Linked DNA regions of Homo sapiens: regions 1, 2 and 4 are each linked to region 3. The links are contacts of gene promoters, found by promoter capture Hi-C in blood cells and fetal thymus (Javierre and others, 2016). All regions are on one chromosome and are shown on one strand. Each heading gives the region's core, a stretch centred on a gene start or on the middle of the fragment in contact. The rest is flanking DNA. Distances are from core to core; before and after follow the strand shown. Region 1 has its middle 5.6 kb from the start of MAP3K14. Region 2 overlaps ARHGAP27 (Rho GTPase activating protein 27). Region 3 holds the start of NMT1 (N-myristoyltransferase 1). Region 4 has its middle 48 kb from the start of ARHGAP27.

Region 1 (2,885 bases), core at 68-2,567, 260 kb after region 3:
GAGAATTCAGATGTGAGGCTGAGATAAGAGATGACTGGGGACTGTAGGGTGGATGTTCCTGGAGGAGAGCAGTTTTCCTTTCCCTGTCGGGACTGCCTGAAGTTGCAGCCACAGTGCTGTTGCTGCCCTCCCCAGCTTGGACCTGCCCTACTGCTGCTGTTAGCTGAGGTCTATGGAGAGGCCAGGGAGGCAGGAGGGGAAATGGATAAATGGATGCAGGCAAAGTGTGATCCATTCTCTCTAGCTATTTTGTGATCAGTGATCTCATATTGGTAGCTTGAAATTGGACATGTTGGGAGTATTTATACCATGGAAGTTGGCAAACAGTATAAATCAGGGCTACCCATCCTGAGTTGGTTGTTAAACACCTGCTGGCACACCACTGTGTGCTGGTTCTGGCCTGTGCCTGCTGCCCACCAAACCAACCCCACATAGGGAGATGGCAGGGGGCACCACAAACCACAGAGCTGCTGTAGAAGAGGAGGGGCCATGGCGATGTGGGTGAGGGGGAGAGGAGTGCCAATTTCAGCAAAGAATGGAGGTGAGGGCTGGTAGGGGACTCTGGAGGGTACTGGGCAAAGATGACCTTACAAGAACAGGTCCTGGGCACACCTTCCAGAGATCTAGCCTCCTCTCCCAACTTTGGAGCCTTCTTAGGGTGCCCTGGCTTGACACAAATTCTTCTCATTTCCTGATTTGGAGATTTTCCCCTCCAGACTCACCTGCTTACCTCTAGTCTCCTCTCCACACTATCCTCAAGCCTTCTGGTGAATTGAATCTTCCTAAGAGATCGCATAGGTCCTGTCATTCCACTCCCAATGTCCCAGCATCTCCTGCCCTTCGATATCTCCCTCCTTTCGCTTCTTCCTTTCAACCTACAAATGAGGTCAAGCCGAGGACACCCTAAAAACAACAAACAAACAAAACCTTGCTAGTTCTGGCTTTCCCCTGCACTGTTAGCCCAGCCTTCTTTCCCCCTTCACTCCCAAACTTCTTGAAAGTCTGCTTCATCTCCCACCCAAGTGGGCTCCTTACAGCCTGGTTTCTGCTCACCAGCCCTTCTCTCCATGAACTGCCTCCTAGTAGATGACCTTGTCTCAGTTTCTTATCTGCAGCCAGCCACAAATGTGATGCACTGAGCTCCTCTGTGTCAGGCTCTGGGTAGGAAGCATGGAACCTCCAGACCAGTCCCTGCCCTTAGGGAGCTTCCTTGAACAGGTAGCAACAGATGAGGACTTAAGCCACTGCAAGTGTGGCAAGAAGATGGGGAGACTGTATCATGTCAGGTAGGATCCAGCCAGGAAAACAGGACCCATTTTGAGGGTTTTTTTTTTTTTAATTTTGATAGAGGTAGGGGTCTCCCTGTGTTGCCCAGGCTGATCTTGATCTCCTGGCCTCAAACGATTCTCCCGCCTTGGCCTCCCAAAGCACTGGGATTACAGGCATGAGCCTCTAAGCCCAGCCTCATTCTGAATTTTTATTTTTATTTTATTTATTTATTTATTTTTGAGATGAAGTCTCACTCTGTCACCCACGCTGGAGTGCAGTGGCATGATCTTGACTCACTGCAACCTCCACCTCCCGGGTTCAAGCAATTCTCCTGTCTCAGCCTCCTGAGTAGCTGGGATTACAGGCGCCTGCCACCACACTCGGCTAATTCTTTTGTATTTTTAGTAGAGACGGGGTTTCACCATGTTGGCCAGGCTGGTCTTGAACTCTTGACCTCAGGTGATCCACCCGCCTCGGCCTCCCGAAGTGCTGGGATTATAGGTGTGAGCCACCTCGCCTGGCCTCTGAGTTTTTAAACAGAATAAACATAGAATTGAATGCAGGAAATTGGTTACATAGGGGATGAAAGGATGGAGAAGTTCTTCAGACAATGGGGGAAGTAACCAGGAATCCAGCTGCGACCCCTGGGTTGGAGGGACTGGACTGGGGCAGTGTAATCAAAGGCTGGGACTGGGGTCACTTGGAAGAAGTTGAAACCATAGAGAAGACACAACCACTTCCACAGATACCACTAAGACTGAGAGGGATGGGGAGAAATCCCTGCATTCTCCTTCCCTTCTACCTTTGGGTTTCCTGCCAGAGCCTCTTACTGGCCTGGGAGCCTAGAGGGGTCAGTCACTTGCAATGCAGAGCAGAGCAGGTGAGGGCTGGATGGGGGAGCACACAGCCCGGGACCAGCGCAGGGATTCCTTCTACCCTCCACATCTATCGTTACCATGTCCATCTCCCCTGTTGAGGCCAGGCCTCATGACTCATTCATCTCTCTCCGGCACCAGGGCCTAGTCAAGTGCCTGGCACCAAATAGGTGCTCAACTACTGTTTGTTGAATGATTCAATACAGCCAGTAGTGGATGAGGACTCCAAGGGAGAGAGTGTAGAGAAATGAGGGGCTTAGGCCTGAAACTTGGAGGGTCTCAATTGTTAAGAATTGGAGAGGGAGGCCAGGTGCAGTGGCTCATGCCTGTAATCCCAACACTTTGGGAGGCCAAGGCGGGCAGATCACTTGAGGTCAGGAGTTTGGGATCAGCCTGGCCAACATGGAGAAACCCCGTCTCTACTAAAAATACAAAAATTAGCCAGGCGTGGTGGCTGACGTGTGTAATCCCAGCTACTCAGGAGGCTGAGGCAGGAGAATCGCTTGACCTGGGAGGTGGAGGTTGAGGCTGCAGAGGTTGGGAGCCGCAGGAGAAGAGAGGATTCTGGAAGAAGAAGAGGAGCGCCAGCTTTGGACATAGTGTATCTGGGCTGCCCTGGCTCTCTCAATTGTCCTCTCTTTGCTGTTGACTGCCAGATTAACACCTTCAGTTCTGACCGTGATCCTGGGCTCCAAACCAGAGTTTCCAGGGGCCCATAGAGTATTTCCACCTTCTAGCCAT
Region 2 (2,839 bases), core at 246-2,745, 350 kb after region 3:
CACAGAGGAAGATCACGGCCAGACCCAGCCACAGCATGAACTGCACAGAGAGAATCACGGCTGAGCCTGTGGGGGAGGGGCGCGCTTGCACAGACAGGGTGGGCAGAGGGGGCGCTGAGTGCTGGGGGCCTGGGCTGGCCTGGAGTGGCTCCTGGGGCGGAAACAGGACAATGAGTGGTTGTCCACTCCCTCTAGGCCCAGGGAGGGTGTAATGGGAAAGAGGAAGCTTGTGGGGGGGAGGGGAAGAGTTCCCAAAGAGGAAGGGGTCTGGGCAGATGTGATATCACAGGGAGCTGGCATCTGGACTGTGCCAGCCCCGAGGAGGACAGGAAGGATTCTGACCACATCACTATCTGCCCGCCTGACCACCTGGGTCTGTCTCCTCCAGACTCGGTCACCAAGATGCATATGCCCTCCCACGCCTGCATGCCCACATGTGCCCACTCTCACTTGCGTGTCCACATACGTGTACAAGTATGCCCGTGCCTGTCCCCTCCTCTCTAAGGACCCAGAGAAGAGGGCCAGGCACCAGCTTCTTCCAGGAGGAAGGTTAAATCTTCTTCCTGGCCTCTCTTCCCTTCACCCCCTCGTGTGGGGATGACAGACCCCAGCCACGCACAGTGGACACATGCCCTGAGTAAGAAGTTACAGCCCCTCCTCTGAGCCCATGGGTCCATCTTGTCTTCCCTCCTCCCTTAGAAGTGCTTCCTCCCCAGGCTTAAGGGCCAGGCAGCACTAAGCCCACCAGCCCACCCCTGCTGAAGTCCACCTCCTTTCCTGGTCAGGCTCTGACCCCCACCCTTCCACTCTAGGCCCATTCTTCCTCCTCTGGCCCCCACCCTGGATCTCTTTTTCTCCCCTGCCATGTCTCTCAGCCCCTCTTCTCCTGTACCCACTGTGGGCTGGGGACAAGGACCCCAAGCAGAGCCAGGCACAGTGTGAATGTGGGGCACGAGACACTTGTAGAGATCACACTAGGAGCAAGACTGGGCCCCATGCCCTGCTCTGCCCACAAAAGCTCTCATACCAGTGTCCCATCCCCTGTACCCGACTCAGAAGCCCAGACCCCAGGGGTAGACTAATCCCCTCCTCGCTATCAGGGTGGAGGACAGCAGGAATCACAGAAGGCTGGAGGCCTCATGCTTATCACACACCTGACCCATCTCTCTGTCCCCACCCTGAGGCCAGGGATGAGGACTCACACACACACACACACACACACACTACACACGTGTGCGTGCATATGACAGGTCACCAAGGGTTATGCAACCAGGCCTCAGAGACAGGAATAGCCTCTGTAAATTCCAGAGAGGCCAGAAACTCTGAGCCACCAGGGAGGAGCTGGGTGGAGAGGGGAGAGAAGAGGACAGGTGTGGAACTCAGGCCCTCAGCATTGCCCTGCAGGTAGCATGGGGGGCAGGGACTCCCTATGGCAGAGCCAGGAGTGTCAGTGTCAGGGCTGGGACTGCAGAATGGGCAGCCAGCAACTCACCTGGCATCTCACCTGCTTCTCTTCCCCAGTAGGAAGCTGGGCCCCCATGATGGGGGTCTCCCAGGGGGCTCCAGCCCCAAACTATAGGGAGTGAACAAACTCACACAGTTCCTGCCTGCTCTTGGCCACAGAAGTTGGCTCTCAGGCCCTGTCTCGGATTCCCTCCCCCCAGTGAGAGGAGGTGATGACCACAGTGGCTCCCCAGAGGGGTCCACCTCCCTCCACCACACCCTCATGCCTCTGAGAGGCACAAGGGGGAGGGTCAGGAGAGGTTCTAGAACAAACCAGCTGCACAACACCCCTCCTTTCCCCACTCTGACCTCACTCTTCCCTCCCAAACCCTCATAGGAAGTGCTGGGGCAGGAGCAGGTGCACTAGGAAGACCCAGTCCTCTGGGGCTAGAGGCAAAATGAACGCCTCCAAACCAGGACTTGGCCCAGGAACTGGCTCAGGGGCTGGCGAGGGGACATGGTGTCCTTTGTTGACTCAGTGAGTCTGCTCTGTGCCACCCAAGCCAGGTGGAGGGAGAGCCAGAAGGAATGGTGATCTTTGCCTCAAGGAGCTCAGTCATGTCCACACGACAGGTCCCTCCCCCAAACACATGTTCTCCAGGACAGAAACTGGGTCTCCCTTTAACCATCCCGGCCTGGCCCAGAGCTACATGTCCAGGGGCAGGATCGGAGGAGCTGGGGGTGACCCCACAGGATCCTGGGCCTCAGGCCTCAGTAGGCTTTGGGGAACTGTGCCTAGCTCAGCCCTCTGAGATTCTGATGGAAGTGGTTTGGGCCGGGACCTGGGGAAAGTGTTTAATTTTAAGCCTCCTTGGGTGATTTGACTGTGCCTCCCAGGTGTGGCACCACGGCTCAGTATAATCTTTTTTTTTTTTTTTTTTTTTTTTTTTTTTTTTTTTTAATGGAGTCTCACTCTGTCACCCAGGCTGGGGTGCAGTGGCTCGATCTCAGCTCACTGCAACCTCTGCCTCCCAGGCTCAAGTGATTCTCCTGCCTCAGCTTCCTGAGTAGCTAGGATTACAGGTGCCTGCCACCATGCCCAGCTAATTTTTGTACTTTTAGTAGAGATGGGGTTTCATCGTGTTGGCCAGGCTGGTCTCAAACTCCTCACCTCAAGTGATCCGCCGCCTTGGTCTCCCAAAATGCTGGGATTACAGGCATGAGCAGCCCGGCTGACTCAGTGTAATCTTATTGCATGGATGTGGGGTGAGATTCCAAATGTAACGGTTTCAGGTGAGACCCTTTTCTTGGGCTTGGGGCAGAAGCTTCCATTGATTCAGAGGGAAAAAGAGTGGAGCCGGAGACCAGAGACTTGGACTCTTGTCTAGACTCTACT
Region 3 (2,700 bases), core at 167-2,666:
CGAGACCAGCCTGACCAACATGGTGAAACCCCGTCTCTACTAAAAATACAAAAATTAGCCAGGTGTGGTGGCGTGCGCCTTTAATCCCAGCTACTCAGGAGGCCGAGGCAAGAGAATCGCTTGAACCCAGGAGGCGAAGGTTGCAGTGAGCCGAGATCGCACCACTGCACTCCAGCCTGGGAGTCAGAGAGAGACTCCGTCTCAAAACAAAACAAAACAAAACAAAGGTTGAATAATAATAATAGGACCTATATTGTAGACTTGTTGAGAGGATTAAATGAGATAATGTACGAAATGCCTTACTACAGAGTCTGGCACTTATTAAAGAAAGAGTTGATGTGGGCTGGGTGCCGTGGCTCACGTCTGTAATCCCAGCACTTTGCGGGGTTGGGGTAGGAAGATCCTTAGAGGCCAGGAGTTCGAGACCAGCCTGGGCAACAAGGCGAGACCCTCGTCTCTACAAAAAATATATAAATTATCCGGGTGTGGTGGCTCATGCCTATAGTCCTAGGTACTTGGGAGGCTGAGGTGGGAGGATACCTTGATTGCAGTGAGCTGTGATCTTGAGCCATTGCGCTCCAGCCTGGGCGACAGAAGGCGGCCGTATTTAAAAAAGAAAAAAGAAAGAAAGAAAGAAAAGAAAAGAAAAAAAGGGTCGTTGTGGAAAATTCTTGTGGGGAATTAAAGGGACCACGTGTGCGCGAAAGAGCTTGGCGAAGATAAGTACCTGGAGGCCAAGATGAGGCGGCGAGCCCTGCCTCCCTAGCAGTGTGGTCTCCTGGCTTAGGGTCAGTGCTTCGCACAAAAAAATCCACTGCCTCTCATGAGACCTTGAACTGCCAATGACCGCAGGTTGCCCAGACTCCCGAGTGAGGAAGGCGGCCAGGAGTCAACTAGGCTTCTTGCGGAAAAGCCCACTCTAAGAAGGCCTGGGGCATTCCGGCTCCAGGCAGGTAGCACCCGCGGGCCTCAGGCCCTTTCACTTACCCGGGAAACGTAACGGTCCTTAACGGCAGCCAATAACGGCTCCCAGCGGCCCAGGCACTGGCAAGGGCAGGCTGAAATCAAACCTCGGATTTTGGAACCTCCACGCCTGAAACCCTAAACCAGCATCGAACTACAACTCCCATCATGCCAGGCGGCCGCCCGGTTCCCAAGGGTCGGTCCCACCAACCTTGCGCCCCTTCTTTCCTCAAAGCGTGGCCGAATGCCTAGGCTTCCGGGTATCAGTGGCCCCGCCTCTTAATCCGACCGGAGCCGTCCCTCGTGATTCCTGGGTATTGTAGTCAGTTTCCTGGGAAAGAGTCGCTCCTAGTGGCAGCTCGCTTCGCCAGAAAAACTACAAAACCCAGAATGCAGCGCAAATTCCCCTTGTCCAATAGGAACCCCCCATGTAGTGGGGCGCGGAGCCCTGCTCTCGCAACTCAAGATGGCGGACGAGAGTGAGACAGCAGTGAAGCCGCCGGCACCTCCGCTGCCGCAGATGATGGAAGGGAACGGGAACGGCCATGAGCACTGCAGCGATTGCGAGAATGAGGAGGACAACAGCTACAACCGGGGGTAACGAAATCCTCGGAGTCCAATTCCCGTCCAGCCTCCCACAACCTGGGTCTCTGGGGTGCGGGGAAGTCACCGGGAGCTTAGTCTAGCCCCACCCTCATGTTCTTATTGGCTAAGTCACTAGGATTCTGCCTGGCGATTGGTTATTGCCTTTGTCATTTACCAAGGGTGGGTGCTCTGGATATTAAGGGCCGGAGACGTTCAGTACTTTTATTATATAAAAGTTCTATGCAGTGTTCCACTCGTGTGCTTCAGGCCATTCCTGGGAAAAGAGCATGTTGGACGATGGTTTTCGATGGTACAACACAGGACAGTCTAGTAACAGTACAGTTCAAAGGGAACGTTACTTATAGACGTGTTGTTTGAACAACGTGACTAGCAATAAACGAATCATAAAACATTTCGCAGCAGTTCACCCTCAGTGAGGAAACTCATCAGACTATACAAACTGTATGTATAATTATATTGTAAAATATCACTACCAGAGAATCCCAAAATATAAACTCACCTTATAAACCTATGTAATTAACGGTATGGTAATGCTTTGATTTACATAGTTTCCATTGCTCCAAATAATCCATAAGTATCCTGAACGATATATTAATATAATTAAGTCTTCGAACATCTTTGCCTTGTTACCTTTGCAGAGCAGCCCCAGGCTTCAAGAAATGAGCGATGTTGTTTCTTGGAGAGTATTTGGAATCCTCGGGCTCCATACTGCCTATCCTGTACTTTAGGGTCTTGCCATTAGTTACTATTTGTTCCTAGGGATGAAGAAACACACCAGGCATTTGAATGTTGAATTCTTTTCCCAAATTAGTTTTTACTTCTGTAAGCCACAGCTTATTCATCTTTCTTCACATGGTTAGTGCCTGGCACTGGCACTCACGCTGTCTCTCCCCATCTTCCTGTCTATATTTGTAGATATATTTTTAAACTGAAAGTCGTGAGAGATTTTTGGGTGTATAACTTGCTGAGTCTGAGGTAGTCTGATTTTCGTAGCCAGCTTGTTATTCGCAGTATTGGTGGCAGTGCAGATATAAAGGTATAAAGACCAAGGACTGCGTAGAAGAGATGGTCCCACAAGATTATAGTACATATTTTTATTGTATCCTTTCTATGTTTAGGTATGCTTAGATA
Region 4 (2,925 bases), core at 289-2,788, 320 kb after region 3:
GAAAGATTGGAGGTAGAATCTGGGAAAGCAGTGACTGGTTGATGGGTTGATGTGTTAAGTGACACTGGGATTTCTTTTTTTTTTTTTTTTTTTGAGTTGGAGTCTCACTCTGTCACCCAGGCTGGAGTGCAGTGGCACGATCTCCGCTCACTGCAAGCTCCACCTCCCAGGTTCACACCATTCTCCTGCCTCAACCTCCTGAGTAGCTGGGACTACAGGTGCCCGCCACCACTCCCGGCTAATTTTTTGTATTTTTAGTAGAGACGGGGTTTCATCGTGTTAGCCAGGATGGTCTCGATCTCCTGACCTCATGATCCACCTGCCTCGGCCTCCCAAAGTGCTGGGATTACAGGCGTGAGCCACCGTGCCCAGCCAACACTGGGATTTCTAAACTGGGGGACTGGGAGGAGAGAGGTAGCAAAGACAGGAGAAGGAAATTATGGGGAGAGAGGAGATGACAAAATCAATCTGGGATACATTGAATTGGAAGTGTTTACATGACCTCAGAGGGAGATTCATTCATTCATTCATTCATTCGTTCATTCATTCATTCATATTTACCGAACATGTGCTGGCACCAGGCATGCAGCTGTCCATCAGACAGACAAAATTCCTGCTGTAATGGAGCTTAACGTTTGTGGGAAAGACAGATGGGGGAAGGACAGATAAAGACAAGCAAATAAAGAGGAAGTGGTGGGAGGTATGCCTGGGGCTCAGGGCTCCAGGCTGTGGAATGGATTTGGGGCCTGGCAGCAGAAGGGCAGCAGTTACAGCTGGCTGGATGGGTGAGCTTGCCTAGGGAGGGGGCAGAGTGAGCTGAGCAGAGGAGAGGGCGGCCTGCCAGCATTTACAGGCCACAGGGGAACGAGTGCCCACAAGGAAAACCACCAAGGAGCAATCAGAGGGGCAACCAGTCACAGGAGGAGGCTTCAAAGATATGACAACTGGCACATTCATGCATTTATTCAATCTAACTTCACTTGACCCCTTCTGTGTGCCAAGCTCTGGGTGATCAGAAATGAATGAGAAGCCTCTGGAGGTGACAGGTGTGTTGTGTGCCAGTGACGAGACCAGGCCACATGAAGGAGATTCTATTACGAAGTCCACATGCCCATGCATTGTGGGGGCACAGATGATGGGGGCTCACATTTTTTAAGCCTGATATATGCAAGGCCCTGGGGAAGGCTTCGTGGTGGTGGGGCAGGAGGCAGAGAATGGGGGCGAGGGCGTGGCGGCGAGACCCACATGGCTTGCACGGACAGCAGAGGCATCCCGGGAGGCTGGGCATTGGCGTGAGAGCGGAGAGAGTCAGCCAGAGGACAAGGAGCCGAGGACGGGGCAAAGATCGCACAGGGAGAGTGAGCTGAGCTCTGAAGGGCATGGAGGACCCGTGCGGGTTTTGAGGAGAGTACCTGCTGCTCAGGAATGTTCCACCAAGCAGACAGGAGTCAGAGGCGGCTGAATGCCAAGGCCCCTGGGATACTGGGGACAGAGCACCTCTTCCTGGCTCCTCAGCACTTAGCAGGTGCCAGAGCTCAGTAAGCGCCCACTCTGCGCCCTGCACAAGTGCGGGATCCACGCAGCCCACAGCATGCTGGGTAAGGCACTGAGTGGGGGGCGGTGGGGCATCTGGAAAGGCATCTTGCAGGGAGGCAAGAGCCAGGTATAGAGCGTGGGAGCAAAGAGGGGCTAGCACACGCTCCAGGGTCTGGGGAGACTTCTCTTGGGAGAATCCTTGGTTGCTGAGGATGGGAAGGATGGGTGAGGCAGAGGTGCCAATGCCCGGCCCGGTGGCCTGAGCCCAGATCCGCCCTCTGATGGGGAACCCCAGGCCCACAGGGACCTCCCTCTGCCTGACCCCAGACCTCCTCTTCCTGGTCCAAGCCTCACCTCACCTTCTCCTCGACTACATGTCATCAGCCTCATCCCCCAGCCTCGAAGCTCAGGATTGGCCGGAAACATGGGGGCTGGGGTCAAGAGAGGGCGAAGACTTCAGGATTCTCTTGGCCCCATGCATAGCAGCCCAAAACTCCCTCTAACACTCCCTGCTGTTCCCGCCTCGGAATCGCCCCTTGGGCAAAAGGCCTCTGGCGCCCCCTACTGGCAGTTCAGCTTCAAGACTCCCAAGCCCTCACGCTTCAACCCTGTCTGAAGTGAGGTCCAGCCTGAACACTTCTAGGGCCAATTCCAGGCTGCAGAGAGGTGGTGTGGGGCCTGGGCCAGGACGGAAGTCTTGTGATATTTCCTTGAACACCAGCAGCTTCCTAATTGGTCCCCTCCCTCCCTCCTTCAGCCACAGCTGGGAAAATCTCTTTAAAAGCATATTTGTAGGATACCACTCAGGAGTAACAAGTAATGAACTATTGATACCCAACAATGACTTGAATGGATCCTAAGGGCATTATGCAGAGTGCAAAAAGCCAGCCTTGCAAGGTTGCATACTGTATATTTCCATCCATTAACATTCTCAAAAGAAGCAAATTATAGAGATGGATAAAGACAAGGTTGCCAGGGATTAGGGAAGGAGCGGGAGGATGTCAGTGGAAAGGGAAGCATAAGAAGTTTCTTTTGAGATGATGGAACATTCTGTATCTTGGTTGCTGCAGTGCTGGCTATACATGAATCTATGCATGTGATAAAATGTCATGGAATTATACACAAAGACAAACAAAAATGAGTGCATGCAAAGAATGGTGAAATCAAGCAAGGTCTATAGTTAGTTACATCGCTTTCCTGGTTTTGATAAGGCACAATGGTTACGTAAGACGGCACCACCAGGGGAAGCCAGGTGCTGGCTGCACCAGGCCTGTCTGTACTATTTATGTAACTTCTTGTAAGTCAATAATTCTTTCAAAATAAAAAGTTTATAAAAACGGAAAAGCATCTCTGGCCATATTGTCCACCTGGTCATCACCTAGTGGCACC

Evidence for each region. Contacts are between HindIII fragments. The CHiCAGO score rates a contact against its expected background, and 5 or more counts as called.
Region 1: a contact is called between a fragment that was not itself captured here and the fragment with the promoter of NMT1 in region 3, in 1 of 17 cell types (neutrophils). The highest score is 6.2, in neutrophils.
Region 2: a fragment that was not itself captured here is called in contact with the fragment with the promoter of NMT1 in region 3 in 1 of 17 cell types (neutrophils); the score reaches 6.1 in neutrophils.
Region 4: a fragment that was not itself captured here is called in contact with the fragment with the promoter of NMT1 in region 3 in 1 of 17 cell types (neutrophils); the score reaches 5.8 in neutrophils.

The regions. Positions count from the first base shown.
Region 1 is chr17:45,321,145-45,324,029 of GRCh38, forward strand. No RefSeq gene overlaps it. Among named protein-coding and RNA genes, the nearest start is that of MAP3K14, 5.6 kb to the left of the region's middle. The HindIII fragment of the contact is 3,763 bases long and covers 1-2,885 here.
Region 2 is chr17:45,410,597-45,413,435 of GRCh38, forward strand. The region is part of intron 4 of ARHGAP27 (Rho GTPase activating protein 27); the gene reads right to left. Among named protein-coding and RNA genes, the nearest start is that of ARHGAP27, 21 kb to the right of the region's middle. RefSeq lists an enhancer at 1,030-1,530 and a silencer at 1,373-1,560. The HindIII fragment of the contact is 2,542 bases long and covers 225-2,766 here.
Region 3 is chr17:45,059,901-45,062,600 of GRCh38, forward strand. It overlaps NMT1 (N-myristoyltransferase 1), which reads left to right and starts at 1,417. Exons shown (of 12, transcript NM_021079.5): 1 at 1,417-1,560. The coding sequence starts at 1,430. It also overlaps a transcript of DCAKD not described here. RefSeq lists enhancers at 197-1,188, 1,048-1,227, 1,189-2,180, 1,328-1,687, 1,541-1,835 and 1 more. The HindIII fragment of the contact is 9,198 bases long and covers 1-2,700 here.
Region 4 is chr17:45,383,617-45,386,541 of GRCh38, forward strand. No RefSeq gene overlaps it. Among named protein-coding and RNA genes, the nearest start is that of ARHGAP27, 48 kb to the right of the region's middle. RefSeq lists an enhancer at 1,263-2,230. The HindIII fragment of the contact is 6,215 bases long and covers 1-2,925 here.